Regions from separate parts of the Homo sapiens genome. Here all the other regions are linked to region 5. The links are contacts of gene promoters, found by promoter capture Hi-C in blood cells and fetal thymus (Javierre and others, 2016). All regions are on one chromosome and are shown on one strand. The core of a region is centred on a gene start or on the middle of the fragment in contact, and the rest is flanking DNA. Distances in the headings are between cores, read along the strand shown. Region 1 overlaps PEX5L (peroxisomal biogenesis factor 5 like). Region 2 overlaps PEX5L (peroxisomal biogenesis factor 5 like). Region 3 overlaps PEX5L (peroxisomal biogenesis factor 5 like). Region 4 overlaps PEX5L (peroxisomal biogenesis factor 5 like). Region 5 holds the start of TTC14 (tetratricopeptide repeat domain 14). Region 6 overlaps PEX5L (peroxisomal biogenesis factor 5 like). Region 7 overlaps PEX5L (peroxisomal biogenesis factor 5 like).

The links. Contacts are between HindIII fragments. The CHiCAGO score rates a contact against its expected background, and 5 or more counts as called.
Region 1: a contact is called between a fragment that was not itself captured here and the fragment with the promoter of TTC14 in region 5, in 5 of 17 cell types (endothelial precursors, M2 macrophages, M1 macrophages and 2 more). The highest score is 21.4, in endothelial precursors.
Region 2: a contact is called between a fragment that was not itself captured here and the fragment with the promoter of TTC14 in region 5, in 2 of 17 cell types (M2 macrophages and endothelial precursors). The highest score is 5.6, in M2 macrophages.
Region 3: a fragment that was not itself captured here is called in contact with the fragment with the promoter of TTC14 in region 5 in 1 of 17 cell types (endothelial precursors); the score reaches 5.0 in endothelial precursors.
Region 4: a contact is called between a fragment that was not itself captured here and the fragment with the promoter of TTC14 in region 5, in 3 of 17 cell types (endothelial precursors, M2 macrophages and M0 macrophages). The highest score is 6.6, in endothelial precursors.
Region 6: a fragment that was not itself captured here is called in contact with the fragment with the promoter of TTC14 in region 5 in 3 of 17 cell types (M2 macrophages, endothelial precursors and M1 macrophages); the score reaches 7.9 in M2 macrophages.
Region 7: a contact is called between a fragment that was not itself captured here and the fragment with the promoter of TTC14 in region 5, in 3 of 17 cell types (M1 macrophages, M2 macrophages and M0 macrophages). The highest score is 10.0, in M1 macrophages.

Annotation. Positions count from the first base shown.
Region 1 is chr3:179,925,671-179,929,520 of GRCh38, forward strand. The region is part of intron 2 of PEX5L (peroxisomal biogenesis factor 5 like); the gene reads right to left. Among named protein-coding and RNA genes, the nearest start is that of PEX5L-AS2, 29 kb to the left of the region's middle. The HindIII fragment of the contact is 829 bases long and covers 1,506-2,334 here.
Region 2 is chr3:179,835,049-179,838,506 of GRCh38, forward strand. All of the region lies in intron 8 of PEX5L (peroxisomal biogenesis factor 5 like), which reads right to left. Among named protein-coding and RNA genes, the nearest start is that of PEX5L-AS2, 61 kb to the right of the region's middle. The HindIII fragment of the contact is 3,962 bases long and covers 1-3,458 here.
Region 3 is chr3:179,886,601-179,890,393 of GRCh38, forward strand. PEX5L (peroxisomal biogenesis factor 5 like) reads right to left here. Exons shown (of 15, transcript NM_016559.3): 4 at 1,073-1,184. Among named protein-coding and RNA genes, the nearest start is that of PEX5L-AS2, 9.7 kb to the right of the region's middle. The HindIII fragment of the contact is 3,074 bases long and covers 1-2,980 here.
Region 4 is chr3:179,815,669-179,819,318 of GRCh38, forward strand. PEX5L (peroxisomal biogenesis factor 5 like) reads right to left here. Exons shown (of 15, transcript NM_016559.3): 10 at 193-336. Among named protein-coding and RNA genes, the nearest start is that of PEX5L-AS2, 81 kb to the right of the region's middle. The HindIII fragment of the contact is 5,838 bases long and covers 1-3,650 here.
Region 5 is chr3:180,600,233-180,603,709 of GRCh38, forward strand. It overlaps TTC14 (tetratricopeptide repeat domain 14), which reads left to right and starts at 1,931. Exons shown (of 12, transcript NM_133462.4): 1 at 1,931-2,190; 2 at 2,659-2,783; 3 at 2,892-3,091. The coding sequence starts at 2,030. TTC14-DT (TTC14 divergent transcript) reads right to left here and starts at 1,881. Exons shown (of 3, transcript NR_183700.1): 1 at 1,671-1,881. RefSeq lists an enhancer at 1,722-2,011. The HindIII fragment of the contact is 2,365 bases long and covers 1,587-3,477 here.
Region 6 is chr3:179,793,407-179,797,090 of GRCh38, forward strand. It overlaps PEX5L (peroxisomal biogenesis factor 5 like), which reads right to left. Exons shown (of 15, transcript NM_016559.3): 15 at 1,552-3,684. It overlaps LOC124909464 (a long non-coding RNA gene), which reads left to right. Exons shown (of 2, transcript XR_007096183.1): 2 at 2,275-2,490. Among named protein-coding and RNA genes, the nearest start is that of PEX5L-AS2, 100 kb to the right of the region's middle. The HindIII fragment of the contact is 4,807 bases long and covers 1-3,684 here.
Region 7 is chr3:179,853,441-179,856,932 of GRCh38, forward strand. The region is part of intron 8 of PEX5L (peroxisomal biogenesis factor 5 like); the gene reads right to left. Among named protein-coding and RNA genes, the nearest start is that of PEX5L-AS2, 43 kb to the right of the region's middle. The HindIII fragment of the contact is 6,436 bases long and covers 1-3,492 here.

The sequences.
Region 1 (3,850 bases), core at 670-3,169, 670 kb before region 5:
ATGAAGGAACAGTTTTAACTCGCTATCTCTAAATTTAGGAAAATTAACTTGATATTAGGCAAAACAAAGAAAAATGATACCAATATTCTATGCCAGTATTAATGTTTCAATTACTTGATTTAATTATTCTAATATTCTGCCCAAATCTTCTTATTCACATACTTAATATACCACAACATACAAGTGCAGGTAAAATTATTGGAGAAAATGTCAGCATCACAAGGTTTCTGATGGACCATATTGAAAATTGTTTTCTCTCTGTGGTCTACTCTGTGTGCTATTTACTCCACACATGGCTTTACTCTTGATTTAAAACCAATCTCCCCCCTCCAAATGTTTCTCCTGAGTCTTCCAATATTTCTGTTTTTGGCACTAATATTCACTCAATTGCTCAAGTCAAAAAGCCTGGCAATTATCCCACGTTCTCTTTTTTCCTCACCTGCAATATCCAATCCATCAGCAGAGTCAATAAATCTTGAATGCGACCACTTCTCGCCACCACCACTGCTGCTACCCTGCCCTCATCTCTCAGCTGGACTCCTGAACTGGTCCTCTTGCTGCTGGACTGTTTCCATCTGACCCCACAGTGCTCTCCTTAACAACCAGAGGAAAAGGCAAATCCGATTACATCAGTGCCCTCGGACCAGCCAGCCAAGATTGGATCCTACTTTCTCATTCATCCTGGAGTCAGAACCTCCTCCTGCCCAGCCACACTTGCTGTTCTTGGAACTTACTAAGGCTTGTTCCAACCTCACAGCTTTGCAGTTGCTGTCCCTTCTGCCTTCCACCAGAACTCCTCGGCCTCTTTTCATATTCAGGTGTCAATTCAAGCATCACCTCCTCAGATGGGCCTCCTGATTACATCATCCAAAATAGGCCCTCCTTTGCTTTATCTTGTGCTAATTCTGTTCAAAGTCCCTCCATCCCTTTATCTCGTGCTAATTCTGTGCAAAGGACTTATTGCCAATTATGGGTATTTTTCTATGTTTGCTGTTGTCTCTCCAACTAGAATGAGGCTGTTCAGGAAACCCTGGGCTTTCTCCACAACTGCCACATTCACAACATTTAGAGTAATGCCTGTCACATGGTAGGTGTTCAACAAATATCTGTGAAATGAATGAGTAGATACAAAATAAAATATTGTTTAACCGTGTAAACTTTCTGGGTAATTTTGGAAATGGCTTCAACTCATAGAAATGGTCACCATCCAAAACAATTTTTATGATTTCTGGGTAATGCCCCATTTTAGTGTGTTTAGGAAAAAAGTAATGGTGTGGACTTAGGCAGATCCGGGTCTCAGTTTTGAATATATATGTCCTTGGAATTTTTAAGCAAATTGTTTAAACTCTCTGGAAGTTAGTTTTCTCAGTTAAAAAATGAAAGTTTGAATTTTGTGAGCTCAAATTATTTTTAATTATCTATTAATTAAACAAGTATTTACTGAGCATGTAGTATGTCCTAGGCATTTGGGATCGCTGGTGAACAAGACTGATGCCATCACTGTAAGCTTACAGCTTAGTGAAGGACTCGGGTTCTTCCAAATGGTGAAACGTGTGATAAAGAGAGGCACATGGTACAATGGAGCACAGACAGGGACCCTGACTAAGTGTAGGCTCTCAGGGTAAAGACAGAGGCTGTGGCTTGAGATCTGAAAGATAGTTACGATTAACTAGGCACAGAGGGGTTGGGAGTCCTGCCAGTGTAAGGAGAGAGGCATGTTCTAAGAAGGGAAACAGGCCAGTGTGGCTGCCTGCAGAGAGTGATAGGGAGAGGTAGGCAGGGGCTAGCCTGTGTCACTCAGAGAGTGGTATGTGGACTGTGAACTGTTTGCTACCTTACTGGGGATGAGGCAAGTATAAAAATTGGAAGTCTACATTGTAGAAATTTTTGTAGCCATTTCACAAAGTAATTTTATGTTTGTTAAACTAATAATAAAATTGGGCTTGCATTTTGTGTGACTTTTTCCATTTCATTTATTTGAAAAATTAATTGTTATTTTCTTTATAAAATCATCAATCTGCAAGGAATTGGACATTAAAAAAACAAAACCAAACAAAACCTGCCCTTCACCATCGTTTGTGTAACCTTGCAAGCTAAGTTAAAGATTTTGGTTTTCATCTTATGAGAAATAGTGTAAACTGTAGCAAATGCTCATGTCACTAGCACACTAGTTTGCTGTTTAAATGGGGGAAGTTTTAGCCAATAATTTTCTTTTCTATTGTAATTATTTAACCTAATATATCAAAAATTATCATTTCAATATGTGATCATAAAATATTATTAATGAAGTATATATTTCTGGGACTAAATCTTTCCAAGTCACTCTGTATGTTAAGCTTCCAGCACATCCCAATTTAGGCAATGCATTTGAATGCACAGGTCTTGTTTCCCCACTTTTATTTATGTTAAGGTTGATCAGTGGGTCCAGGGACTATCTGCCTGTTCCTTTCATATAATTGTTTAACATTTGCCAACAATTCTCTTTACTTCAGTAATAGTTGAGTAAAACCAGTTTGCACGCTTACAGGAAGCCAGATTGTGAGCCTTTGGGTGGGCTTATATGCTCCTGCATCACCAGAGCCTACTTTATTACAGAGAGAAGCTCAATAATATTTGCCAGATTAAATTACAACCATAATTCAGAATAGCCATTCTCAACATTTTCAGCCTGTGATCCAACTGGGAACACCTGTACCCATCCCTTTTGGAGGAGGTCCCAGGAGACAAAGAGCCATTTACAAATGGCTGAGGGTGGGGACTGAGAGAGTGCTAGGGCCTCTCGGGGACACACACCCTTCCTTCCCCACTTAAGCTTCAAACAATGTGTCGAGGGGCCTTTAAAAACCATTTACAACAAATGGTGGGTAGGCAGTGGACAGCATTTAAACAGTTGTGTATCTGAGTTACAATCTCAACTCTCCAACTGATTCTGGATTGAATTTTAAGCATTTTCCATCATTTCCTGCAAGCAACCATCACCTACCACCGGAAGCACAGTTCTGTGTTAGATCTAAAACTCAGTGATTCTTATAAAAACCCAGCAGTCCCTTTTGATGTGACAGAGAAAAATTGAGGGCAAAGACCTAGAGTTGGCTTATACTCATTCCATTTTATCACATAAAGAACAAAACTACTGGAGCACAAGCCCCAGTTTTTGCTGAAGGCAATTAAATCCTAACCCATTCCAGCAAAATCATCAAGATCCAGGCTTGAAGCCCCTCCATGCCATTACCTTTCCATACATTCTCCTTAGTCTGATGACTGAAATTTGTAAACAGCTGTCCCTGTCATTAGTGTGAGTTACTGAGAATCCAGCTGTAATTCTATTCTTCTTTTCTAACTCTGTTAAGTTATATCCAAAAAGGGAAACATGTCAGGCCAGTAGGGCTCACATGATAATGACTTATTCCATCAAGTCTCAATAATCTTCTAATGAAGAAAAGTACCGGCAAGGATTACCTAAACCAAGGGATAATCCTAAGTGACATGTTTAGAAACCCTGATTTTTTTTTAAGGGATTAGCTCTAGCCTCCCAAACAGTTAAAAATCAGGTTGCTTCCCTAGCTGACAGCAGGGGGCAGCAGATCAGAGTCAGTTCTGTGCAAGTGGTTTCAAGGATGGAAAATCTGTGATGGAAAAATCCTCAAAGTACTTAAATCTAAATATAGAAAACCTAAAAGTTGATTCCTCATTTAAAATTTATTTGACAAAAGAGTAGAGCTAAGTATAAAGAATTTTGCATTTATTTTCAGTCCATATTCTGTATTACATTTATTTTACAGTTCATATTGCATTAGGTTGCATCTTGTGAAGTTGCCATTTTTTTTTTTTTTTTGGTAAGTCAGAAGCT
Region 2 (3,458 bases), core at 426-2,925, 770 kb before region 5:
GCTACAAACTAAAGAGCACCAGGTTCCTGGGGCTACAGAAGCTGGAGGAGGCAGCTATGTTCTTAGACTATGAAGCTGAAAAAGCCAGTTCCTGACCTCAAGGGTCTCACAATCACTTGGAAGGAACAGCTGGGGTGTTGAAAAGTATTCTGCACCAAGTCAGAAAACATACACTCTTGTCCTGGTGCTACCACTCCCCTAGAGATGTGATCTCAGCCAAATCAAATAACCTTTCCTCACATCCAAATGTTTGGAAAATATTTCTGTAAGTTGTGAAGAGTTATACCAGGGTTAGGTGATGTTATTGTTGTTGCTTTTTTTTTTTAAATAAAAACACTTTTCTTATATCATTTGAATGTTCACAGAGATGTGAGACAATATATCAGTCGGTAATGGTTGCTGCTAACTAGCACAGCACAAAACAATCCTAAGTTCTGAGAGGACAAAACAGCAATAGTGGCTTTGTCTTTTTTCTCTGGGAGGCAGAGCTTGTGATTTATTTTTTAAAAGTATATTTAGAATCTGAAGAACATTGCTGACTCAAGAGAAATGTGAATTGAAGGTCATAGTTGCATCTAAAGTTATGCTGTCATGACTTTTGAATAATTAAAAGATTGTTTTCAGGGATAATTGTAGTCCCACATTTTAACTAAATATTTAAGGAAAATAAACGATAAACATGCTCTATTTTCATATGGGGAACTCCAAAGAGCCCATTAACTGTCCAGATGGCCCGGAATGGGATTAAAGCAGATTTAAATTAGGGATCACTGAAATCTTCAAAATTAGATTTAAGTGGGTGTTAGGAGAGTATTTTAGAGACTTCCTAAAATTCACTCAAAATATGAGAAAACAATGATTTTTATTTCATTTAGGTATCTGTATTGGTATTTTTTGATCAAATACTTCAGAAAATTTTTAGAAAATAATGTAGGCAAACCAAGTTCATTGTAGGCAAATTAGACAAATACATGAACAAAAAGAAAAAATAACCTTCCTAATTTTACTGTCTAGATGTAATCACTGAGAGCACTTCAGTATATCTTATTTTAGGTTTTCCCCTTACATTTACATGTAAAAACCGTTGCTCGTCAACTCTGAATCCAAGGGCCAGTTATTTCCTTCTGTGAGCTCTAGTTTTCTCATCTATAAAAAGGAGTTAAAATGCCTACTTCACAGGATAGTCAGGAGGAGCACATTTTATAACACTTATAAAATATTTGGCAGAGTGGCTGGAACATAAGTGCTCAACAAACATTAGATGTATACTTATTTTGTGAAAGTAGAACTTTACTGTGCACATAATTTTATAATCCTTTATTATGGATATATTTACATATCAATAAAGAGGCCATTGATTTGCACTGAGCTCCTATACTAGGCCCAAGAGACCAAATCAAAATGGAGTCACTCATGCTGAAGTTACAGGCCACCAAAACTAAGTGATTTATTTGACCTTTTGAGAAATCAGGAGAGAGAGAAGAGACAGATCCCCAAACAGGCCTCTTTTGGGTCCCTGTTTCTGTTTTCTTTAGCCTCTTTTTTGCTTATAAAGTCAACTTCTTCTGCACAGCTCATCAGATAACCTTTTCTAAATTTTTAGAATTAGGTAGACGCTATGCTTATTCATGAATCACAAATAAAAACCAATTAGATCATTTAACCAAATTTGTTGTGGTTTTGTCTTTTGACAGTAGTCATGGGATTATTCAGGTGGTATATTTTAGACTAAAGTCTGAAGTCTACCTTGGTTTGGGCTTCTTAGCCTTGAGAGATTTTGAAAAGTCTAATCTGAGATACCTTATCAAAAATGCCAGCAAAGCAGACTTAAAAAGAGCCTATGTGGTCAATCACTATTCATGCTGCAGTTATGTAAATAATCAGGCCAAGTTTGATGAGACTATTTTGCAAAAAATTAGTCTTACTTTGATTATCTTTGACAGAAATGGGGGTGACTATAGAGAGAAAAATTATATTTTAGAAGAAAAACTATAATACATTGTTGTTAGATTGTATTCCTATTCATTTCTTTTGAGTTTTTGTTATCTACCTGTAGACTGGACTGGATCCTAAATTCTAGTTTCTTTCAATATCTGGCTATAAATTTTCAACTAAGAAAAAGAATTGCTCTGTTCCTGAAAACCTATAAGCTGAAAGTGAACAATTCAATAGAAATTTCAGGGAACAAGTCTCATTCCTTATATGTAGGCCACACTGAGTTTACCAAAGTACCTGATGCCGTAACTGAGACCTTCAAACTGCAAATCAGAATGAGAAGTTGTTGACTTCCTACTGTGAACAGCTTTTCCCAAGACATTGGAACAAGACTCCTCATCATGATGAGACTCTTAACTCTCTTAATTTTTCTTCACTTATGCCTACCTCTTTCACTTGGCAGGATAATGCTGTAACTTCACAATCAGTAGCTTCTGTGAATAACTTGATGAAGCATTGGATCCATTATGTCATCATGCCATACCCAGATCTTTATGCAGCCTAAGAGATCCTTTAGTCCACCCGGTGGCTAACTTTAGCAACATCCCTTACATAACTGTTTGCTCAATTGGTACAAGTGGTCCCTTTTATAGAGTTAGACTTTTAGACTAACTTGTTCGCACTATCTGTTCTGATTTAACCCAGTCATGGGATGCTAAATAGTGGAATTGCTACCTACTAGCTGAACATGGAGAAATCTGTGCAGTTGCTGGCATTTCTTGTTGCACACGGATAAATACGTTGGGTATTGTCAAAACTCAGTTGTAAAAATTAATAAACAGGCTGCTTGGTTAAAACAGGTAGACTCCTCATCTGGCTCACTGTTGGATCTATTAGATTTTAGTTGATTTAGTTCGTGAGAACCCTGGCTAAGGAGTGCATCCAAACTCTCAGTATTATCCTCCTGATGGCCATAGAGTAGTCTTCCTGCTGTGTTGCATTCCCCCAAAAGTTTTAAATGTTTGCATGTAGCCATCCATCAAATACCTACCTTGGCCTTCCAGTGTTTGCTGAAAAATCAAATTTTTAGATACAGACTGTCAATAAAGACGTTATGTATCTTTTCTTTCAAGAATAATCTTAAAATGTTTTTGAAATTCTTCAAAATTTCTGGCCTTTTAGTGGCATTCCTTCTTATTACCTAGTACTAATAACGTTTTTTTCCACTTGTGTTTTGTCTGTTTATTCCAATAACAATTTGAGAAAAGGAAATTAAAAACAGGTAAAAATCAGAGATATCATGTGATTCAGATTTCAGAAAAATTAAAGTTTCCTTAAGTTGCATTTAACTTGGTTGTACTGGGCTGCCTCTACATACTGATATGTCCTCAAAACACAAACATTCAATTTCAAGAGTATTAAAAGTAATGGTGACCTTTACTATAGCTTCTCTTAAACAAATATCAACAGTCACTTTTTTAAAAGCCAAACATTCATTTGCTTCTGATAAGTTCTGTGAGTTT
Region 3 (3,793 bases), core at 194-2,693, 710 kb before region 5:
TTAAGCAACATGCCCCTGGATACAGAGCTGGGGTTGGAATTCATGGAGTTTGAACCCAGAAACTGTAAAATATGACCTCACATAACAAGCCTGTCTATCTCATGCTAGTTACTCTTCTTGTAATTTTTGGCATTTTGGAAAAATCACGATTTCCTTCTCCTGTGATTTTATTCACTTAGAAATATAATGAAAATATGCAAGCCAACAGCAAACTGAGGCCAAGATGACAAAATGGAACAAATTTAACAAGACAGTATGTGATTATCCTTTTCTTTTTCCATTAAATTCCGCTCTGCACATCCAACATAACCTTTGTTCTTTGATTCTGAACATCATTTTTTCATTCTTATTTGAATGACATGACTTTGAATGTGAATGCTGACCAAATGAAATCAATGCAGAAAGACTGCCTCTACAAGGGAAGTGTAATTTATGCCAGTGGCATCCTGTACTCACTCATTGGATTAATACTTATTGAGTGCCGATTCCTATATGTGACAGGCACCGAGCAGGGGATGGTTTACTATTTGATAATGTTTAATTCCAGGAGAACATTCAAATAGATTGTTGTAACGGGGAGCAAGTAACACATTTACATGACAGAAAATGAAACCGGCTCTATACTATCCCAAAGCTGCAGGATATTTTGTCATTTAAATCCACTTGAAAAGGTTGCCACATTTTTATTTACTGGACTTCCGTTATACAAAATATTTCCAGAAATAATTGGACCATCAGCCAGAACTTGAAAACCTTACTCTGAAAGAGATGTTTTTGTTTTAAAGATTTTCTAATGTGATGAGACTTTAGATATAAATATGCAAATATGAAAATATACATGAAAACATGATTCATTGCTAATAGTGGTATACTTATGTTCTGCAAAATTGGTTGGGTAATATACATTGCAATTTCTGTGATTTATTGGTTTATGCTAAATAGTATACATTCTAAAGTTTCATTTGGTTGCAAACGTTCTTTCCTCACTTAAAATGTATTATGGAAAAAATGTGCATTTTACTATAGTTAAAATTAACTCTAGTTGAGGAACAGTTAAAAGTGAGAGAATTACCAGCTGTATTGGATGTTACTGGCCTTGCTATTGCTTCCGATTTGGTTTCACAGAGAAAGTCATCGATGGAGGGACTCAGGAGGGGTCTGCTTTCTTGTTGCTCATTCACCAGCTGAGAACAAATGAACAGAGGTGTCAAAGGGCTTTGTTAAACTGCAGAGTCAGATGAATTAAAATGCAGCCTTGCAACAAAATGAGAATAGCAAGCCTACCAAAAATAAATAAATACATAAATAAATAATGGGGTGGGGGCAAGAAAGAAAAAATATCAAGAGGTGGGGAATGAGCCTTTTAGCACTGTCAACATATTTTTGATGCAGCCAACTTCAATGTTTAAAGCTCAAGCCTTTCCTCCCCCCTCCTGAAATATGATTATTCTCTAATTTCAATATATAGAAAATGACACGTATTGAATCATAGTTGCTAAGGGCCAATCCCACTCCTCACCTGGACAAAAGCTCCTACTGAGACCTGGACCAGTGGCTTCAGACTCAAAGATGACATGTTCTGGTTAGCACTGCTCAGTCAGTGTTTATGTGGGGAGTGCAAACACACGGATCAGTGTGGGTGGATAAATGCCTGCCTCGTCTCCCTCTCTTAAAAAGCTCAGGTCACCTAAAAACACACCCTCTACATTTCCTTGGAATGCTTTTGTATTACATAACAAATATTATTTTGGGAGAGTAGAAAATATTGTTATATTAACTGTGTAGGTATCTAGTACATGCGTTTATAAAATCTATTTGTAAAATATATCTCGGTAGATTCAATTGTGTTTTCCCATTAGCTCATTTTCTAATTTCAGCAATCTTTCAGTTTGATTTTTTAGTGGATCTCTAATTATCAGTGGCAACCACTATTTACTTTCAATCATTCTGCACCTCTTTGAATCCCGTCTTGCCGAGTTATGTTTCTACGGTTAAGGGAGAAAACACACTTTTGATACTCAGGTGGTTGATCCCTAAATTAACTGTTTTTTTTGGGGGGGGTGGGGGAGCTTTTATATTTGCCTTTCATAAAACAGGCATAATCATCTAGTTTTTTGCTTAAGAAAAAGACACACCTCATAATCTTTAGGTTTTTTTGTTTTGTTTTGTTTTTTGTTTTTTAAATAGGCACAGGATGTCTGTCACCCAGGCTGGAGTGCAGTGGCATGATCATAACTCACCGCATCCTCGAACTCCTGGGCTCAAGCTATCCTCGCATCTCAGTATCCCAAATAGCTGTGACTACAGGTGTGCACCACTATGGCCGGCTAATTTTTAAAAATTTTAAATTTATTTTTATAGAGACAAGGTCCCACCATCTTGCCTAGGCTGGTCTTGAACTCCTGGGCTCAAGCAATTCTCCCACCTCGACCTCCTAAAGTGTTGAGATTACAGGTGTGAGCCACTGTGCCTGGCCAATCTCTAGATTTTTTAAGAACTTATTTGTTAAGTTGCATTTTAAGAGGCATAAAATAGCAAATGGAGTGCTTTGGAGTATTACCAAATCAAAATATTTTATATTACTCTACTCACCTTCGCTACATTGTTTCTCTGGCACAGTGTCAGCAGTCTCATAGTTTAGAGCTGATGGAAGGTGGCAGGGGACCTGAGTAATGGTAACTATGGGGAGAAAGTGCACTTCTTTTATTTCTGAAAGGGCAATATGGAAGCACTTAGTGGTCTTTTGGAGACTGGAAGCCAAGAGACACATTTAGTACTCATATGCATGCTATTTAAAGATGGATAAATCTCATTTAAACATGTGTAAATCTCAGATGTCCATTAGAGTTTAAGATTTCAATATAGAGTTGGTAATTAGATTTTTATACATATTAATTTGTTATTGAGGGATGGGCTTTGAGAACGCTTTTCTTCTTTTAACGTTCAAGTTACAGGGATAGATCTTTCTTCAATTATTGTAAGCTTTGGTATTACTATGTATAAAACCTCGCAGATTTTGCTAGGAATCAAATCCAAGGCCTCTTTTGGTATTAATCTTTTATTTTAGGATGCTGCTTTGACTCATGAGTGAAACTCTGAGCCCCAGTGCTTTTTATTTTTTCTGAATTTGAACATTCCTGGGTATCACCCATTCTATATATATTAAAATATTTTTAAATGTTGAGGGACTATGAGCTGCCTATGTTTCAGGAATAAAATATATTTGAATTTTTGTAAATGCTATGGTCTATTTGAGTTTAGGAATGATTTGTAATACTTTCTGGCATAAAAGTCAATTTTATTATCTGGAAATGTAGTTGAAAGCACTGGTATAGAATACAATATACTAGAAAATGATGAAATAGCTAAACATCAGTGATCCGGTGAGCTCATCTAAAAATATGATTAGTGTCCCAGAATCTGTATCTCATTTGTAGTTAGTGCATGTCCAAACTGTACATATGTAACAGTTTCCAAAGGACCTGTACATTGATACATATTTCCTGGTAGGACTTGCTCTTTTAACCATATGTGCTTAATGTAATGAACTCATCTAGTGTGATCAACGCAGTGATGAGGTCCTACTTTCACAAACAATGCCCACCTCCACACTGTGGCCTTCTCATGGCTGTGAAGTGCGATCTGAATTCCACTGTGTTATACGCATTCACAGAGGATGAAGGTTACCATCAAATATGGCACCACCCTATACGCATAGAAATTATTGTAACAGGGTTGCATTTACTAAGCAGTGCATTCTGATGACTGGCCTCTGGGTCTAGGTCTTATTTAC
Region 4 (3,650 bases), core at 689-3,188, 780 kb before region 5:
AAACACTGCCAATTAGAAATTTGGTTAGAAAACGGGTACTTATTTGTAACTTTTAAACAAGTAGACTAAGCTAGGTTAACTCCTCTGGGAACCTTTACTTGATGAAAAGCTGACCCAGCAGAGTTCTGTGTTATCTGTCCCTTGTTAGCACATGCCCTTTCTGAGTCTGGCAGAATGAAGGGAGAATGACACCTCTGCATCTCCAGGGTCCTGAAGAATTGCTGCTTCCATGAACAGGATGGTGACTGGCAGATCCCCTTCCTTCAGCCTTTTTAAGCCTTCTTCAAATGCTCCAGGCCAGTCCTTGAAGGGGTTTTCAGTGTGAAAGTAATATCCCTGCAACACAGAAAAAGGCCAGTGCATGAGCCATTGATTTCTCTTCTCATTCTCACATTCAATAAGTTCTCATTAAAAAGTCAGGAAACAACAGATGCTGGAGAGAATGTGGAGAAACAGGAACACTTTTACACTGTTGGTGGGAGTGTAAATTAGTTCAGCCATTGTGGAAGACAGTGTGGTGATTCCTCAAGGATCTAGAACCAGAAATATCATTTGGCCCAGCAATCCCATTACTGAGTATATACCCAAAGGATCATTCTACTATAAAGACAAATGCACACATATGTTTACTGCAGCACTATTCACAATAGCAAAGACTTGGAACCAAACCAAATGCCCATCAATGATAGACTGGATAAAGAAAATGTGGCACATATACACCATGGAATACTATACAGCCATAAAAAGGATGAGTTCATGTCCTTTTCAGGGACATGGATGAAGCTGGAAACCATCATTCTCAGCAAACTAACATAGGAACAGAAAACCAAACACCGCATGTTCTCACTCATAAGTGGGAGTTGAACAATGAGAACACGTGGACACAGGGAGGGGAACATCACACACTGGGGCCTGTTGAGGGGTCGGGGGCTAGGGGAGGGATAGCAACAGGAGAAATACTTAATGTAGATGATGGGTTGATGGCTGCAGCAAACCACCATGGCACGTGTATACCTATGTAACAAACTTGCATGTTCTGCACAGGTATCTCAGAACTTAAAGCATAATAAACAATTTTAAATTAAATTTATTTATTTTGATTAATTATTATTTATTTTAAATTTAAATTTCTGCTTTTCCTTATTATGAATATAGTACATTTTCATTGTATAAAGTTTAGATAATACTAAATAATATAAAAAGATACAAAAAGTTACCTGTAATGCCACAACCGAGATACGACCACTAATATTTTTGAGTTTGCTTTCTTCTGATATTTTTTGTTCTTTTTGTTTCAACAGTTTCCCCTCAAGATTTTAAAAATACTGATTCTTTAGACATGTTTTTGCTAAGTGCTACCACCCATACCCCGAAATATGAATCCCACATACTGTATATCTGTTTACCTACTAGGGCCCTTTGGAGAACTACAAACCATTGTCATAGCTAAGAATTTTTTTGCCTTCACCCTGAACCAGTTTTTGCCTGTTGGGGGCTATATTGCCCCTGTTGAGCATGCATGTTTTAAAGTTAAAGATTTTTTTTTAATTGTAAAAATTTAAAGAATACAGGATGTATAAATAACTGGTATTTTCTATGAGCATATAAATTAAACAAGTAGGCACATATTACATAGGCAGTCTTGTAGCTTAGGCCTCGCTTAGTTTTATATTGTGATTTCTCTATGTTATTAAAATTATTCCCATGGATAGGCTATATTTATTTACTCAATCCCCTATTGATGAACATTCAGGTTATTTTAAAGTTTTTGTTATCATAAATAAAACTACGGTGAAAGCCTTATGCACAAATCTTTGCTGCATGTACTTATTACCTTAGGATAGACTCCCAGAGGGATTTATTAGGTTAAAGGTTATGAGCTATTTTTAAGCCCTTGAAATGTGTAGCTAAATTGTTTTTGAGAAAAATTTGTCCAATTTAAACTCTCATCTGAAGTATCTGAGAGATGTTATTTGTTGCAATTTTACTTGCATAGATTGTCATAAAATCTTTTAAATTTGATAGATACAAATAAGCTAGTGTGTTGATGATGTTACTAAGGTTTAAGAGTAGATCAAGTGGAGGCCTTCAGTCTCCATAGGTGCTTAGAAGGACAAAATGCCCCATCAAAAGCCACAGGGTGTGACTGGCTTATGTGGGGTTAGTGTGGGTATGGGGTTCTGGGAGTAAGGGGCTATGGAGCTCAGGCAGACCTCGGGGGCACGAGTTACAGCCCAGAGTCTGATGATCTGAATCAATGTCCTGTGTTCTCACTTAGCTATGATTTCCTTGTGGAAAAGACAGTTACTTTTAATGAGATGGTTGTTCTAATTTTATGAGATTGCCTGGCCCATTGAGGGACAGAGTATTTGGAGGAGAGAGACATTTTAATGACTATGTAGATTGCAGATCTACTAAAATCGGAGACTATTCGTCATCACATCCCCAGTACTTAGTGTAAGAGTAGATACTCAATAAATATTTGTTGCATTAGCAAAATATCATGAATGCTATCCAGAACTGAATATTACTGAGACTTCCTCCGCCACAAAATAATAATATATACTTATCTATATATAGTTTTTCTTTTATTCTTTTAATTAATTAATTAATTTTTAATTTTTGTGGGTACCTAATAGGTATATGTATTTATGGGGTACATGAGATATTTTGATACAGGCATACAGGCATACACGTATGTGATGTGTGTAACAGTCACATCAGGGTAAATGGGATATCATCACCTCAAGCATGTATCCTTTTTTTGTGTTATAAAGAATCCAATTATACTGTTTTAGTTATTTTAAAAGGTACAATAAATTATTGTTGAGTGTAGTCACCCAATATGCTATAAAATACTAGATTTTGTTCATTCTATGTAACTATGTTTTTGTACCCATTAACCATCCCCAGTTCCCTACCCCCCTCCCCTGCCCATTACCCTTCCCAGCCTCTGGTAACCATCATTCTACCCTCCATTCACATGAGTTCATTTGTTTTAAATTTAGCTCCCACAAACAAGTGAGAACATATGAAGTCTGTCTTTCTGTGCCTGGCTTATTTTACTTAACATAATGACCTCCAATTCCATCCATGTTGTTATAAATGACAGGATGCCATTCTTTTTTATGGCTGAATGGTACTCCATTGTATATATGTACCACATTTTCTTTTCTTTTCTTTTTTTTTTTTTTAAGACAGGGTCTCATTCTGTTGTCCAGGCTGTGTACTGACACCATCACAGCTCACTGCAGCCTTGACCTCCTGGGGTTGAAGTGATCCTCCCACCTCAGCCTCCTGAGTAGCTGGGGACTACAGGCGTAGTCCCCTATAGTCTCCTGTAGAACTGTAGAACTACAGTTCTTTCTTTTTTTTTTTTGGTAGAGACAGGGTCTCACTCTGTTGTTCAGGCTCACATTGTTTTTTATCCATTTGTCTGTTGATGGACACTTAGGTTGCTTCTATATCTTGGCTATTGTGATATATGCTCTTTTAGGTAAGAAAGTTCCACATTTTTCTTTCAAGTCATTTACACTTATTCCTCAGTGTTCCCCCCAACCCCACCAAGTGTTTTTAAATGCATAAATCCTAGAGCAACTGGGACTTCATGAGTGATTTGGCTGGTTGTTCACTGTACTTGTGCATTTGCT
Region 5 (3,477 bases), core at 681-3,180:
GGAATTAGGAAGAAGTATAGACAGATCCCATAGTGATAAAACCATGTGCTACTGAAGAATGGCCTCAGAAGGTGACATTCCCAGGCTAAGTAACACTATTTGGTGTCTGGTTCTCAGACACCGGTTTCTTAGTCCCTCCAAAAAATGAGGTCCTTGATCACAGATTGACTCTAACACAAATCACATACTTATCAAGATGTCTATAATAATTTTTAGTGGTCAGCTTTCCTTTTCAGTGACAGCACTCTTTCCTAAAAACAACCATTCTCTAGAGTTATGGCTTAAAACAAGTCAGTCTGTACCATTTATTAAAGTTGATATGCCTATAGAAGCTTGAAATTTATTTATTTATTTATTTATTGAGACGGAGTCTCCCTCCGGCGCCCAAGCTGGACTGCCGTGGCGCGATCTCAGTTCATTACAACCCCCGCCTCCGGAGTTCAAGAGATTCTCGTGCCTCAGCCTCCCGAGTAGCTGGGACTACAGGCATGAGCCACCACGCTCGGCTAATTTTTGTATTTTTAGTAGAGACGGGGTTAGGCCATGGTGGCCAAGCTGGTCTCTGAACTCCTGACCTCAAGTGATCCACCCTCGGCCTCCCAAAGTACTGGGATTACAGGTGTGAGCCACCGTGCCTAACCCAAATTTATCTTTTACAGTTGCATTCTTGTTTGTTGCATTTTCTCAAGTCTCAAACTGTTTACCTATTTGCCTGGGTTTTCCACAAAACAGTGTGGCAGTATCGATTATGTTCTGGGCTAGATCTCCTATACAAAAGTGGTAACACAGTGAAAGGCAAGTTGATTTCCTCAAAGACACATGGTGGGAAGTGGAGAGACTAACTGTCACCGTTTATTTCTGTTCAAGAGGACTATACTGAACTATTTACACTGAACATATTTAAATGGTACAAATTTTATACTGGAATAAAACGAAGCTACATGATCTCAAAATTAGGGTTAGTTAGACCTTCCATATGATAAAATACTCAATCCAGCAACTCTGCCTGAGAAGACCAATTAATACTTCGTTTGGAATCCTAACTCTAGCCTCTTACTAGCTGTGTGCCATTGAGCAATTTACTGGGACTCTCTGAGCATGTTTCCTCGTTTTCTAAAATGAAAAAGTACAATAGCTACCATAGTGGTTAGGTTCTCAAGTCAGTAAGTAAGGGGATGGGGGACCTAAGTTGAAATTCCCTTTGAAAATCACTTGAATTGTCCATAAGAACAGTATATTGACTTTTGCGTACATACCACTATACAGTAAGTCCCACAGACACTAAATTTTGAGCAACCATTGAGATAAACTAAATAAGAAATGCATGTGTTCATTAGTTATTGTAAAACTTGAATGGCATATGCACGTGTGGAGACATTAAAGCCATCCTGGTTTTAGAATTCACAATCACTAACAGTAAATGGGGTATGGATGGAGAACACCACTCCAGGTGCTTAACAAATGTCCGTGTCCTTCCTTTCTTCTGCCCTTAAAACCACCTGGAAACCTTCCCGGAGCAGCCGGTTGAATGGGGTTACGCCAGAGACACAGGTATTGATTTACGCAGAGAGTACGTCGAGGGAAGAAGCTTGGAGACTCGTATAGGGTTCTTACCCTGGCACTGGCACTTAGAAGCACCTTGATGAATACGAAAAGGAATTATTATTTACCCTAGGTTACAGCTCGAGCTATTTCGACGTAATAACGATCCCACGTACACTTTAAAAAGCAAACTTCTCACATACATCACTTCCTGGAAGCCCTAGTCAGCCTTTAGCCCAAGCAATGCTGAGCCCAATCCTTCGGCCTTCCGTAGTCTCGCTCGGTTTCGCGAGATCGAGGCTGAGCTCCGCCGCGCCGCCGTGGGGGCGACCCCAGAACACTTCCGGGTGTAACTGGTTGTGCTGTCTGTGTACTTCCGGCAGCCTCCAGACAGTTTCTTCCGCTTCCTGTACCACCCGGCTCAAGTAGCGGACACGGAACAGGGAACTATCAGCCCGTCGGCCTCCGGGCCCTGCATTCTCTAGCCATGGACCGGGACCTTTTGCGGCAGTCGCTAAATTGCCACGGGTCGTCTTTGCTCTCTCTACTTCGGAGCGAACAGCAGGACAATCCACACTTCCGTAGCCTCCTGGGGTCGGCCGCCGAGCCAGCCCGGGGCCCGCCGCCCCAGCACCCGTTGCAGGGCAGGTAATGAGACGTTGGTGCCACTGCGCCACGGAAGAGGGGACGCAGCTCTGGCAGCCACTACCGCAGCCCCGGGTTTGCGTCTAGAGGAAGTGGAGCCGCGGCCGTGAGCACAGGACGATCGCGCGCTGGTGTCTTGGGCTGGGTGGACGGGGGGCGCTCCTGGGTTGTGCAATGCGGGATGCGGGCTGAACTTTTTCTCTGGCACTGCTTGGTAGAGGCGCAGATTCCTTAGCTAAAAATCCCTTGAGCTTTCCTATCTGAGTTGGAGGCGTCACTTTTTAAGTTTCCCCGCTCTCCACCTCCAGGTTGGTTAATGAGGGAATGCCTAGTTAAAACTTTTTGTCTGAGGTTGTATTGTCTGCAGCTTAGGATGGAGCGGAATGGGCGATGAAAGCCATAAGCAGAAGGTTAGAAGTAAAGAGGCTTTGCAGATAACCCAATTTTCATATATATTTTTTTCTTTTTAAGAAAAGAGAAGAGAGTTGACAACATCGAGATACAGAAATTCATCTCCAAAAAAGCGGATCTGCTTTTTGCACTTTCCTGGAAATCAGATGCACCTGCAACTTCTGAAATTAATGAAGACAGTGAAGGTCAGTTTAGCCTTAAAATCTTTAAGATTGCGGTTCGGTTTAACAGTACTTCAGGTGAAACGGAACTCAAAACTATCGTTAGTGATTTTGTTAATTTTTTTTTTTTAGATCATTATGCAATCATGCCACCTTTAGAGCAATTCATGGAGATACCTAGTATGGATCGGAGAGAGCTGTTTTTCCGAGATATTGAGCGTGGTGATATAGTGATTGGAAGAATTAGTTCTATTCGGGAATTCGGTTTTTTCATGGTGTTGATCTGTTTAGGAAGTGGTATCATGAGAGATATAGCCCACTTAGAAATCACAGTAAGTTATTTTTGTTACTTGGATTGCTTCTGTTTTTGTTAACGCATCTCAATGCAAGAACTATATCTTTGCATGCAGTTGTGCTCAAGTATACCTGCCAAGATGCTTTTGGAAATTAAATGTTAATTGGAGAAAAATAGTTTAAAAAAATTAGTGTAAGTTACCCAGTTTCTCCCTCCATTTCTGGTTTTTGGGATTTTTTAAATTTAAACTGGTTGGCAGGCACAGTGTTCTTTTCTAAATGCTCAAAGAGGTATCAGTGGACGTGGTGAGGTTGATTGATATTCAGACTTATTTCTTGTAGTTGAACATATGTATTCTTAATTAGTTAATATTTGGCATTGTATATTTTCATGTGGATAATTTGGAGAGAAGTTTCATTTATA
Region 6 (3,684 bases), core at 964-3,463, 810 kb before region 5:
TTGCAAATCTAAATTTTGTCAAGAAGAGTTTCTCCTTTTGTCAATTTTTAATCAACAGCAGACTTTACCATGAGCAATGTTAGCTATCATATTGGTTATTTTTCTCAAGCCTACTTTTTCCTGGGTCAGTTTTTACAGTTCGTAGAATTAGATGTGATCTTTAGTCCACTTTTAATCTAGGAGTGATTTTTTTTTTCACCATATACAGTTTTTGCTTTTATGTTCATTATATGCAGTAGGCAGAAACTTGGGACAAGAATATCCATTGGAGTTAAATGGCAGAGTAGAAACGTCGAGCCTAGGAATCTGCCACAGTTTCAGTAAATATCAGCTGCTTCTGTGTCCCCCTTTCAAAGAACTCCAGTTGCTTCATTTCCAGATGGCTCAGGGAAGCAACCTTAAGCATGGGGCCTACTGAGGATCAGCAGGTTAGTTCCACAGGGAAAAATACTAAAATTAGCTGTCAGTTCCCCAAATTCTGATGCATTAAGATGATTACCAGGTAACATTATTTATTATAGATGTAAGAAAGAAAAAAAAAAGTCCTTCACGAGCCCTAAAGTGTTGGGTCATTAAGATATTACTTTAAGGAAACTTGTAAAGAATATAAAGAACTCTTCAACCTTCAGTTTCTCTTATATACACATGGAGAGAACGCAGCTATTTCAGGAAATTCATATAGTTTACATTTAAAAAGTGGAAGTAGGGGATATGAAATAGGCTTGAGATATTCAAGGAGTGGGGGAGAAGCCTCAATTTATCACTACGTAGTTGGATTTTTATCTTACATAGCGCAGCAGCGAAGCGGGAAAGAAATATGTACACCTTGATTTTATAGGGGAAAAAATGGAATTTTATGAAGGTCAGGGGCTGCCTCAGATTGACAGATGGAACAGTGACAAGTGAGAAAGGGATGCTCCAGTCTCTTGCTGTATAGCTCTCTTCGCTTAGCCTGCAGTTCCCTCCCCTGCCAACCTGACTCAAGGACTTTATTTTGAAAATGGTTTGGAAGAACAGAAACCTCAGTCTGAACACCGTCATCTTTGCGTGGAGCAAATTTGCCCTTGAATCTGCTCTGGGAAGGCCTCCCATGATCTTCCACCTGCCAGGCTGTCTACTAAGGTCGTGCAGCTCACAGCCCTCACCACCCCAGCCCCCCTTCTTCCTGAATGCACACTAAGCTCATTGCTGCCTTGGGATCTTGCACAAGCTATTGGCTCTGCCAGTAGCGTTGTGCCAACTCTACCTGTCAGCAAATCTCAGTCCAAATGTCATGTAAGAGAAAACTTATCTGACCACCTACAGATAAAGGAGCCCCTCCACTCATTCTCATAATAACTTATTTGCCTTGTTCTAGTACGTTGTAGCACATGGCATTCTTATTTGTTAAAGTATTTGTAGGCATCCTTTCACAGAAATCTAAGTTCTTCAAGGGCAAGTTTGATTTCATTCACTTACTACTGTGTCCTACGCCCAGAATGGTGTCAGCACATAATTTGTATCTAAATATTTATTGACTGACCAGAAAACCAAAAGACCCTAAAACTGAAATTTATTTTAATATTTTTATTCTAAAAAGAATCACAAAATTCAATTTCAGGTTAAATAATATTTTAGTCTTAAAAAATTAACAAAGGAGGAAGATTTTTAAAGTTTTGTTTTATATCCAAAAATGCATTCCTGATTTCCAGATAGCTCATGCAAAATCATATGTAGTGATATTCAATATTTAATAAAAGGACCTTTAGCCAGTAGTACAAATTGGATTCCATTTGATCAGAAGGAGTTCTGATCCCCAAATCCCATTTTGAAAGATTCCTGAAAAGACCTCGAAGCCGCAGACAAAGTTTATTTGAAAACATAGTTTAAAATTGCACAAATATAAATACAATTTAATAATGTGAAAAAGGGAAGGCATGCTTCCAATAATAGTACAAAAATACTACCTTAATCTTGTTACGCAAATTAGAAGCCAACTGAGTAAATTAAACACATCAATATGATAAGAGGTTATTTTTATGGTAGTAATTTTATTTCAAAGAGCAACGCAGGGAAATACTAAGATGAAGCCTTAATACCCAACAGAGTTGTGCTATGATACATATTATTTCACTAAATCACTGATACAGTATCACATAATATGCCAATCACTTTAAAATCCCCTCCCCCCCATTGCCATTAATTTACTATAGGTCACTTAATTTGAATTGGTATTAATTTAGTAACGCAATGTAAACATTTAAACTTAAATTTTTTTCTTGTTATCTATTTCAGCCTGAAAATGAAATCCCAAGACTTTAAACATTTATGAGCATGAGGAGGAAGCATCACAGAAGAATTGTCTCAAAACAACATTTTTAGATTAGATTAGAGATGCAATATTCATAGATATATAAAATATGTAGAAATGTCTTTTCTAAATAGTTAAATGTTTGTTACAGTTTGTAAAAAGTTTAATAAATTAATCAGTTTTTTTTCAACCAATGTAAACAAATTTGGGCAATGTAAATTGAAAGTTTGGGTTAGATGATATATAGGGAACATGAAAGGAAGTTGGTAAAAACTTAAGTTTGCTGTATTTCCCTTAACTACTGGTAATGTAGTCCATCATGAACACATTTCTCACATGGCAGAATTCTTGTATGGTATCCATGCAGAAATGCTATATATCTCAGTGAAAATGCCAAATGCTCGAATTACCGAGCTGAGTGTGTATACCTCTTAGTCTTTTTGTGTTATACCATTTCCCTTTCCAAGAAATCCAAAGAACACGACCCCTCCCCCTCCCCCAATGAATGATACACATTTTATAGTTGAGCAAAGAACTGCCTAATTGTTGTTGTTGTTTCCATCTTAATATTATTTTGAGTGCAGGCTTCTATTAAGTATCCCACGGAGCTCATCAGGGTTTTGCTCTGACATTCTGCAGCATTGCAAGTTAGTTTTCTCTTATAGAGAAGGTCCTGAGAAAACAGTTCTGACATTGGGACACTTGTCTCTAGACTGTGTTATTTTGGTATTTCTGCAGAAGCTGCAGGTAGTGGAAACTTCGTTCAAGGCAAAATACCACATGAGAGGTTGTTAAACCTCACAGTTTAATTTTCTGTGTTTTTTTTTTTCCTCTTAACTGTTTAATGCCTCCCCACAATCGTCTTTGCTATGTGTGTTATGTGTAGAATTCTGTCTTTGAGTTCATGGTATGTGTGTGAGGGTACCGGGGTATATGGAGTGAGTAACAAAGCTGTTACTAATGTAAGACCACATGGTCTCACTGAGCTTTGCTCTCTCCCTTTCTGGTCTCCTCATAAAATAGGGGTTATGGGAAAAGGCAGTGAGAAGATTTCAGAGTTGGTTCTGAGTGACCGTGAAATCACCTCATCACTCCCTAAATATCAGTGTTTTTAGACCTGTTGATCAAGTCCAGTTTCTCAAGGGACATTTAGCCCAAGCAGCTCAACTACCATACAAACAGGGCTGTATCAGAACAATGTTGTGATACCCCACACACTTGCTATGTGACATTTATGAAAATTAAGGCCCCATATCTACTTCGTTGTGTGATGATTTTGATGTGCCTGACATTACCCCAACCTCCTCGCCTTATTTAGAATATCAGTTTTTCTAATTTATTCCCAAACTTTTAGAAAAATTTTGAAATGCATTATTAAGAATTTAAAGTCGAAA
Region 7 (3,492 bases), core at 384-2,883, 750 kb before region 5:
CTCTCCTCTGCAGATGAAGCATAATTCTCTGTAGAAATCTCCACTCCTGGGAGGCAGCTTTGGGCCTCACTGAGCTCTGGGAGCTCCTTCGCAGTTTGTCACTCCTGTGCCTCCCTGTGCATCCTTCCTAGGGACCTAGTGGACAGTGCATTTAGGCTGCTGGCTATAAGGAAAATCCAGGGGGAAGCATAGAGGAAGCTCCTCTCTCTTTTGTTCAGGGAAGATGCATTTTATTTTTTAAGCCCAGAATGGGAGTATCTATCTCTTTGTCCTAAAATTACAATACTTTAGGTAGAGACAATTTTTCTTTTCTCTTCTTCCTCCTCTTCTTCTTCTTCTTCTTCCTCTTCCTCTTCCTCTTCTTCTTCTTATTCTTCTTCTTCTTTTTGGAGGTAGGGTCTCCTTCTGTCATTCAGGCTGGAGTGCAGTAGCATGATCAGGGTTCACTGTAGCCTCTACATCCTGGGCTCAAGCGATCCTCCCACCTCAGCCTCCTGAGTATCTGGGATGACAAGTACGTGCCACCATGACTGGCTAATTTTTCTGTCTTTTTGTAGAGATGAGGTTTCACCTTGTTGCCCAGGCTGGTCTCAAACTCCTGGGCTCAGGCAATCTGCCTGCCCAGGAGTTTGAGACCAGCCTTGGCAATATGGTGAAACCTCACCTCCCAGAGGACTAGGATTACAGGCATGAGGCACCACGCCAGACTTGATGTTTCAATACAATGTTAAGATATGGAGGAAAAGATCCTCACCCATATAAGGCTTAGCTAGAGCTAAGAGTTCAACGTGAGCTTGAGGAATGACAGTCTTTGCACATAAACAGGTTCCCAGGTCATTTACTACAAACAATACATGTTCATGTGGTTTTAGTTGTCTTTTCTCCAACAGTGGATAATGTATTTTAGGGCACTTCAGCCAAAAACTTAGTCGATTTGCACATTTCCAGGTATTAATATAAGTAAAAATGGGTTCATACCATCTAAAATACAAAATATGCCCAATGTTACTGGCAAGATTGGTTGGAGCCTGCATTCTTATAAATGTGTCTCTCTGACTGACATCAAGACCAAGACAATTACAGAGGACACTGCAGCCCAGTCCCAGGCAGAAATCTGTATGCTTCAGGCAGAATTGTTTAATGTCAACTATTAAAATGGAGATACAGTTATGTTGGAAGGTTATATGGCACTTTATATACAACAATAGATAGATGAAAAAAAGCGTTACCCATACAGAGTGATTAACATTAATTAATGAATGAATTTCATTCATCCATCCATTCAGTCAACAAATATTTATTGATTATTCGTAGGCACCAGACATTGTTCTAGATATTAGGGTACAGTGGTAAATAAGAGACTAGGCCCCTTTTCTCATGGAGGCTACATTTTTAAAGTAGAAAGACAGATTATAGACAGATAAATAAATAAAAACAAACAAGAAAGGACCCAGTGATAAATACTAGGATGAAAAACAAAGGCCTAGGTGATGCAATGGCAATTGAGTGATCAGGTTCAGCTTTTCTGAGGTATTGGCAATGCAGCTAAAATTTGAATGTCAAGAAGGAACCTGCCACCTGAAGATCGGAGGAAAGAGTGTTCCATATAGACAGAAGAGAAGGTGGGGACAGTGGGCAGTAAACTTGGGTGTGGGAGAGGAACAGAGAGAAAGGCAGAAGCCAAAACACCTGGAGCTCAGTAAGGGGACTGAGAAGAAGAAGAAAGAGTGGAGAGGTGGCCAGGTGCCGATCATGAGGCAGGATGATAACAAAAAATGGAATAGAATGTAAAATAGGAAGAACGTTGGAATCAGATGATATAAAAACATAAGGCAGAGATTTTGGAAAAATTCAACTTGCTCCAGGCATGATTTTCATCTGGAGCTTACTAGTATTTAAAATTGCCTCTGATGAAAGCAATCTGCATCACCATTCTTTGTCTTGAAATAAAGAATAAGACACTTTTAGTCCTTTTAAGAATCTTATATCCCACTGTAGTGTCCATGACTTACAACTTTCCCCTTGATTATCAACATAATACATCTTTATGAAAGAACATTTGGAAAATACAAATAAGCCAACAGGAGAAGCAAAAATCCATTCCAAATCCAGCCACCCAAGAATAACTATTGCTAACATTTGGGCACAGAATCTGCTATGGTCTGAATGTGTTCCCTCAAATTCGTATGTTGAAACCTAACTCCAAAGGTGATATATTAAGAGGTAGGGCCTTTGGGAGGTGATTAGGTCACGAGGGCGGGGCTGTCATGAATGGGATTAGTGCCCTTACACAAGAGGCCTGAGGGAATTTGTTAGCCTTTTTTGCCCTTCTGCCATGTGAGGACCCAGCAAGAAGGTGCCATCTATGAGGAATGGGCCCTCAGCAGACACCAAATCTGTTGGCAACTTGATCTTGAGCTTTTCAGCCTCCAGAACTGTGAGCAATACATTTCTACTACTTATAAATGACCATATCTCAGGTTATTTTGTTATAGCAGCTCAAATGGACTAAGACAAACTCTATGTTCATACAATGCAGTGGTTCAGAATACAAACTCTGGAGTCTGGGTGAGAATCGTTGCTTTGCAACTTGCTAAACTTGTTTTTCAACTTGCTAGTTGACTTTCAGTCTATCTTAATGGCTTATAAAATGCCACATAACTGTCTGCAAGGTCTTTAAGCCTCAGTTTTCTCTTCTGAAAAATGGAATAGTAATCTTACTTTCTTCATAGCACTGCTGTGATGATTAAAGGACATAAGCCATGTAATTTTCCTGATTTAGTACCTCACACATAGTACATTCTTTAACATGTTACCTATTATGCTGTTATCATTTTACAAAGTTGGGATTATACTGTAAAACTTTCCATATATAAACTACTATTTCAATTATTGCTAGACATTTTTAATAGTTACATAGTATTTTGCTATAAGGATATGATATAATTTTAGTTAAACTCTGTTATGGGATACTTCGGCTTTTTCCAAATTTTCACTATTCAATGAAATTCTACAGATAAAATATTGCAACTTTCAAGTTACGTCTCTAGGATAAATTCTATGAAGTGGCTGGGTCGATGAGCATAAATATTTCCAAGACTCTTCTGAGGCATATTATTATGTCTTCCGCTATGAATTTAGATAATACCCTGGGTAAGAATAATGTCTGGAAGTAAATATGTGTGAAGTTTTGGAGGCATGATTTACCATCAGCTTAATGTAAATACTTTATCTCCTCCTTCCCCACGCATTCACACACTTTTTTCTCCACACCTGTTCACACCTTCTGGTGGGCACCATTTCCCTTCATTCCTTAGGGAGGCTTCCCAGTACCAGGCTTCTGGTTAAGCAACTCTGCTTATAGTTTTCTGATTTGCTGGGAATTCTGTACTTACCATTCTTTTTACTTGAAGACATAAACTTACAGGGTTTTAGTATATTGGGAATCCAAGCCCCTCAACTTACAGGTGATATGAAACTAAAGTAGAATGA